Regions from separate parts of the Homo sapiens genome. Here region 1 is linked to region 2. The links are contacts of gene promoters, found by promoter capture Hi-C in human tissues and cell types (Jung and others, 2019). All regions are on one chromosome and are shown on one strand. The core of a region is centred on a gene start or on the middle of the fragment in contact, and the rest is flanking DNA. Distances in the headings are between cores, read along the strand shown. Region 1 overlaps FMO1-AS1 (FMO1 antisense RNA 1). Region 2 holds the start of FMO3 (flavin containing dimethylaniline monoxygenase 3).

Region 1 (3,542 bases), core at 679-3,178, 83 kb before region 2:
AAATTTGTCCTCTTATCTCTATTTTTCCTGCTACTATCATGGTTCAGATACTCACCACTTCTTACTAGAAGTCTTGATTGTCTCCTCCCTCTCAGTCTTGACCCACCACCACCTTCCCACTCCAACCACTTCTAGCTCTCCCCCTACCAATTCATTCTTTACACTACAGCTGAAATTGAGAGAACTTCAGATTAAATATGGTGGACTGAAGACACATTTTCCTCTGCTTCCACTTGAAATCCCACGAAAGAGTATTTTAAAAGGCATAAACTTAGAGGATAAATGAAGTAAGAGATTGAGATTACAGTGAGAAGAAATGTCAACACACTATTTGAAGATGAGAAGTGAGTTGATGAATTATCAGAAAAGAGAATGCTAACACCAAGGGCTTGCGAATGGGATGCTAACATGAAAAAAGTGAATGCATGCCAGATGATTTTAAGATAGCTTAGTGAGTGATTGGAGGCATCAGGAACTGCAAAGATGTTGGTAATGGGACATGACAGAGGAATTCGTTGAAAGTCTTTTTATGAAATGGATATTTCTCATCCTCATTCTGCAAACAACTATGAGACTGACCTTCCTTCATCCTGGATGGAGACTGGAGGTTTGATCTTTGTGGAAATTGAACTGGTAAAGTTCCAGACCTGATAATATAAAAAGGACTCAAAACCAGGGCAATTCACCAAGAAATTTCAGAACCCCAGAGATAGAGATTCCACAACCTTTCAGAAAAGGAAATACAAGTCGCATATAAAGGACAGGAAGTAGAATGAACAATGGGCTTTTAACAATATTGAAGCTCGAAGGCAATGGGGCAATGACTTTAAAAGTCTAAGGTAGTATCATTTTCAGCTTATACTTTTACATTTAGCTGAATTACTAATAAAGTGTGAGCATGGAAGTAATATATTTCAGTTACAGAAGAGGTATGACACATACTGTTTATTGGTTACCCAAAAGTTTCCAAGTTCATTTTTCTCTTTTTACCTTCCACTATAGGCTGGGAAAAATTATTTATCGTTATTTCAGATGCCCTTGTACTTAGAAGTCACCATGCAATCTCCACTCTGACCAGTGAGGTATAAACAGAATTCTCCCAGTGGATCTCTAGAAAACCTTTTGATTCCTTCCTCCCTATCTCCCCTCCCCTCTCCTCCCCATCTCCCCTCCCCTCTCCTCCCCCTCCCTCCCTCCCTCCATCCTTCCCTCCCTCCCTCCCTCCCTCCCTCCCTCCTTCCCTCCTTCCTTCCTTCCTTCCTTCCTTCCTTCCTTCCTTCCTTCCTTCCTTCCTTCCTTCCTTCCTTCTTTTCTTGTTTTCATCTCTCTCTCCTATCTCTCTGGACATAGCTTATCTTTATCTTATTTGTTTTTATGAAATTAGGATATTTTACCAGATTCCTTATTTAGTGGTGCCCTCTTCTGAAAAAGTAGAAAAGTTCAGATATTTAACAGTTTTCCTTTTGTTTGTTTGTTTTAATGATGATGATTGGGGAAGGGTTTTGAATCCTCCAATTTTATGGTTCTTTTTTTGTCTTATAGGACCCTAATTTTTTTCTTCCTTTTTTTCTTCTTTCTCCCTTCACTGCCAAATTGCCACAGGGCTTGTCTTCCTTCTTTTTGCCTTTTCTTTTCTCACTCAGAGCTATGCATTTCAAAGACCAACTTTTAAAATGTAGTCTCTCCTTTTAAATCTCACCTGTCTCTTTATATTGCATCAATCCTTTTCAATGGTGCCTGGTCCTTTAAATAGCTAGTATTTGAAATTACTTTCTAGTAGCCAGTACTCTGACTTGCTTACATGCTTTTTTACTGTTTCTAATGTAAACTAGTTTTATTTTATGATACTTTTTGAATTTACTGTAAAGAGACTCCAGTATGGCCAACATGGCGAAACCCCGTTTCTACTAAAAATACAAGAATTATTCAGGTGTGGTGGCTCATGCCTATAATCCCAGCATTTTGGGAGGCTGAGGCAGGAGGATCACTTGAGGCCAGGAGTTCAAGACCAGCCTGGCCCACATGGTGAAACACTGTCTCTACTAAAAATATAAAATTTTGCCCGGTGTGGTGATGTGCGCCTGTAGTCCTAGCTACTTGGGAGGCTGAGGCAGGAGAATCGCTTGAACCTGGGAGGTGGAGGTTGCAGTGAGCTGAGATTGCACCACTACACTCCAGCCTGGGCAACCGAGCAAGAGTCTATCTCAAACAAACAAACAAAATGTAAAGAGACTGACTAGTATTTACCTTTTAGGATGTCAGTGAAAATTAGTGAAAGCTTTGAATAATGATTTATTTAAAAATAAATGCAGTATGATTACTTTCAGGTGTGGTGAGGACCTTCGGGAGCACTTTCTTTGCAAAGAAGTAATTATTTATAATTGTTATATTTCTTAATTGTACGGATTTTATGTTAAAATAGTACCAGATTGCATTTTGTTTTCTTCAGTAGTCTAAGTTCCCCCATCAAAATATTGTTCACTTAATTTATTTACTCTGCAAACTTAAAAACAGAAGTTATAGTTAGCAGAAGTAAATTTTAGCTCAAACTATACCCATGACATTATGAATTTTACATAGAAATTTACTGAGACTTATAAGGAGTTAGTGTGTTTATACAGCTTCCTAGAGAGGGAGATGCTAAATTTCTCTTTATCACTCATTCTTTTAGCTGTCCTCACTACCAGGAAGTTCTTTACTGTGTTTAATCAAATCCTTTAAATCACATGAACAACTATTAAAACAAATTAAAAGTGGGCCCAAGGAGGCCTATGTGTGAGTTCCTAAATGCAGCCCAACTCAGCACTTAAACAAACTGAAAACCTAACTTAGGAACAGAATCTCAGCCAATCACAGATGGCCAATTCTTCAAACCATGTTCAAATAAGACAGATGTGAACTATAACCAATTGGGCTATCTCTGTACCTCAGTGCAGTTTTCTGTATGTCACTTCCTTTTCTCTAGTTACAAATATAACCTACACATTTGGTGGGGTGGAACATTCTGAGCCATTTTTGGACTGAACTGCTGCTCAATTCTAAAGTCACAAATAAAGGCCAATTAACGCCTGCAAAACTAGATTTGTTGTAATTTTGTCTTTTAACACAACACATTTCCAATATGACTAATGTTTAGGAAAACAAACAACTTGAATTTTTGCTGGCTTCTCTGCAGATACATTCATAACTTTAATCCTACTATATTTTGTGTGATTTAAAATTATGTTGTTTAATTTTATAAGTCAAAGATAATTTCCGGTCTATTTTAAAATATTTATATACTAGGATTGTAGCTCATATTCTATGAGAATATGTTATGGATAGAAGACTTTTTTTCCATAGTAACTGGAGGCAGGGTGGTAGGTGGAGGTGGTAAAGCCAGTAAATTGGTGTGATATCTGAATGGGGTGCTATTTTTAAAGAAATGATGAGTGTATGGATTTATTTAGTAAATATTTATTGAGTACATATTGTGTGCCAGGTATTGCACATACTTGAACTACTGAACAAGTTCTTGCCCAGTGAAAGTCTTTCAAGAACAT
Region 2 (3,430 bases), core at 401-2,900:
AAACTTTACTTTTTAATAAACACTGGCTGAGTATGGTAGCTCACGCCTGTAATCCCAGCACTTTGGGAGGCTGAGGTGGGAGGATCACTTGAGCCCAGGAGTTTGAAAGCAGCCTGGACAACAGAGTGAGACCCTGTCTCCACAAAACAAAACAAAAAACAAACAAAATCAGCTGGGTGTGGTGGCACATGCCTGTACTCCCAGCTACTCAGGAGGCTGAGGCGGTAGGATCACTTGAGTTCAGGAGTTCCAGGCTGCAGTGAGCCGTGATTGTACCACTGCACTCCAGCCTGGGTGACAGAGTAAGACCTTGTCTCTAGAAAACAAATTCCTTTTAGTGATCTAACTACATTTTCATTTCTCTCTAATTTCTAAAGAGAAAGTTTTCTTCTGAAAAAAAAATAAGCACTTTGTTTTTAGTCATCAGCTCTCCAAAATTAAGAGACTGATGACCCAGCATACATATTTATCTTTTTTGCTTTTGGACTTTGTCATTTACTGTCTACCAAAAAGAGTAAGCAGAAGAAATAAAGATTCGCAACTAAAACACCTGTAGACACATCCACCCACCCACCCACATACATATGCCTGTATATGGGAATGAAGAAACACATATGTATATGTATACACACACACAGTCATACACACACACACACACACACGCAATCTGTATCTTCTTTTTACTTAGATACGGATAATGAGGAACAAGGTCTGAAGATGTCTGTATTTCAGTGTGCCAGGTAGTCACCCCTTCTCCCCATCAATAATGTACTTCACCTTCTCAATTAAAAAGACAAGTAAATGGTGCATACCTATAGTCCCAGCTACTCTGGGATTATATAGTCCTGTTGAGCTGGGGTATCGCTTGAGCCCAGGAGTTTGAGGCTGCAGTGAGCTATGGTTACAGCACTGCACTGTAGCCTAGGTGACAGAGTGAGACCTTCTCTCCGGGGGGTGTTGGGGAAAGAAGTCATGTTCTTACCTAAAAACAATTTTTTCCCACTACCTTCAGCGTCCATTCCCCTCTAAGAAAATTACGTTTCCTAACTTTTTTCTGTTCCTGACACTGTCTTTAGGCTCTACCACTACTTCTTTCACTACTTTTTTTTTTCTTTTTAGACAAAATCACATAGCTATGCAGGGAAATAGACTTGGATGATTAAACATCATGATCCGTGATTCCCAGAAACAAACAAACTGCCTGAATTATATCATTCTCATTCTAGCCATATTTGGTATAAAACTACAGCATGCTCCTTCTTCATTTACCCATCCCACCCTCAACCCTTTACTATATCACCTTTTATTCTTTTTCTTTTCTTTTTTTTTTTGAGACGGAGTTTCGCTTTTATCCAGGTTGGAGTACAATGGTGTGATCTCGGCTCACTGCAACCTCTGCCTCCCAGATTCAAGTGATTCTCCTGCCTCAGCCTCCCAAGTAGCTGGGATTACAGGCATGCACCACTACGCCTGGCTAATTTTTGTATCTTTGGTAGAGATTTGGTTTCACCATGTTGGTCAGGCTGGTCTCAAGCTCCTGACCTCAGGTGATCCACCCGCCTCAGCCTCCTACCTTTTTAATTTTCCTACCCGTTCTTTGTCTTCTTTTCTTCTGTGTGTCTACGTCCTGTCCAACCGTCTGGGCAGTTTGAAAGAGAAAATGTTCTAGTGAGCCTACATATTAGGAAGATTGTTGAAAAATGGGAGGAGCTGCTCTTAAAGAGATACTCATTTATTGGTCCTTGAATGGGTGAGCACACGCCAACCCTCTGTGATGGATGGGACTGTAGGCCAGTCTCCCATGGCCACCCAGTTTCTACTTTTCCTTTGATTATGGTAAACACAAGCTGCTGGTTATACTCTTGGACCCTTGGCCTGGGAGTCAAGTAGTTTCTCCCAGGTGACTTTGCAGTTCTGTACTCCATTTTATTATGTGTTATTTGAAAGTTTACCTTGTTTTCCTTATTCCTAGTTCTTTTGTGGGTAGCTCATAGTAGTCCTCCAAATACTGTAGAAACTTAGCTACTTAATTGAGATAGCCCAATAAGGAGGATGACTTTTCTCTGCTCTCTCTTTTCATGTCCTGTCTTGGAATTTTGGGGTCAAAGGCCTGTATTTCTCAAGCTTATATTTACTTGTTTCTGAGTACAGTGTGTGGTCACAGAAAAGATCAAAATTCCACAAATTGATCTATTAGTACCAGGAACCAGGTAAAATTAGTACCAGGTAAAATTATGTTGGCAGTTAGACAAAATAAACTGCACCTAACTCCCAGTCATGAAATATAGTAGAATTTCAAAAAAAGTTTTCCTATCAACTATATTTTGATGTCACTTAGAATTATAACATCTCACTCATTTTGTCTAGTTAACTCCTTCATTAAGCAAGTGATACTTAGTGTAAACTGGTATATGTCTAATTTTGAGGAATTACCCTTCATGCCTTTTGAAGACAGTAATCTTCATCTCTGAAGTGTGAGTATGAGAGATTCCAAATCACTTCTATAGCTCTGTGGCCTTGGGCAAATCACTTAACCTTTCCAATCGTTGATTTACTCATTAATAAAATAGGGATAACTACACTATTAATTCCTGTCTGGCTATTTTTTTTTTAACAAGGATTAGAGGATTAAAGGGTATGTACACATAAATACATGTATACATAGGTACATATAAAATGTGGCATGTAGTTAAAAATGAGCAAATGTGACTTGTAGATAAAAATTAAAAACAAGTCATAGGTTCATGAAATTTTCTAGGGCTGCAATTCAGACAACATGATTTTCTCTGCTCTCATTTTACATAGAACTTCTTTTCAGTTTTTAATGCTACATAAATAGAATTAAAATAATGCAAAGAAAAGATTGTGACTACTTCAGGAAGCAATACTACTCCTATAGCCTTATTCATTTAAAGATTGGCAGGACACACCCAATTCTACCTTGGCCTCCGATGTTTTATCTCTCTAGGAGGTGAAAAGGCCACCTATTCTTTGCTGTCCTTCACAAGAATGTATCTGAAGTCGACACATTTATTAGTCCTGTCTCTCTCTAGCCTATCCTTTGCTTGCCACAGCTTTCTGCAGAGCCCCTTTTTAAATCTTCAGAATCTCAAATGCCCAGGCTCTGGTTGGGGCAGTGGGCATTCTCTACTCTGTTGTCCCCTCCAAATCACAAAACTGCTAAGAAGAAACTTTCATCCCTGGATGGTTGCTAGATTATTGTTGCTGTTGGAGGATATGAGTGGAAGACTTATATTCTGTTCTCTTGCTCTATATTTTCTTTGTATTTTAAAGAAATTTTTGTTTTCTTCTAATTGATTTGCTGGAGGCAAGGCATATATCTCTTGTGACACCTGTTGTCATGTCTGATGATGCATAACAGTTGAAAGATTTCTATAAAATGAGAGTGGCTTTTGGAGACTCAGACTTG

What was found. The method cuts DNA at HindIII sites, captures the fragments that hold promoters and counts their contacts. A contact is called where the count stands out against the background at its distance.
Region 1: a fragment that was not itself captured here is called in contact with the fragment with the promoter of FMO3 in region 2 in 5 of the 25 tissues and cell types used here (aorta, mesenchymal stem cells, neural progenitor cells and 2 more).

Annotation. Positions count from the first base shown.
Region 1 is chr1:171,172,642-171,176,183 of GRCh38, reverse strand. All of the region lies in intron 2 of FMO1-AS1 (FMO1 antisense RNA 1), which reads left to right. Among named protein-coding and RNA genes, the nearest start is that of FMO2, 11 kb to the left of the region's middle. The HindIII fragment of the contact is 6,992 bases long and covers 1-3,542 here.
Region 2 is chr1:171,089,125-171,092,554 of GRCh38, reverse strand. FMO3 (flavin containing dimethylaniline monoxygenase 3) reads right to left here and starts at 1,650. Exons shown (of 9, transcript NM_001002294.3): 1 at 1,574-1,650. The HindIII fragment of the contact is 16,457 bases long and covers 1-3,430 here.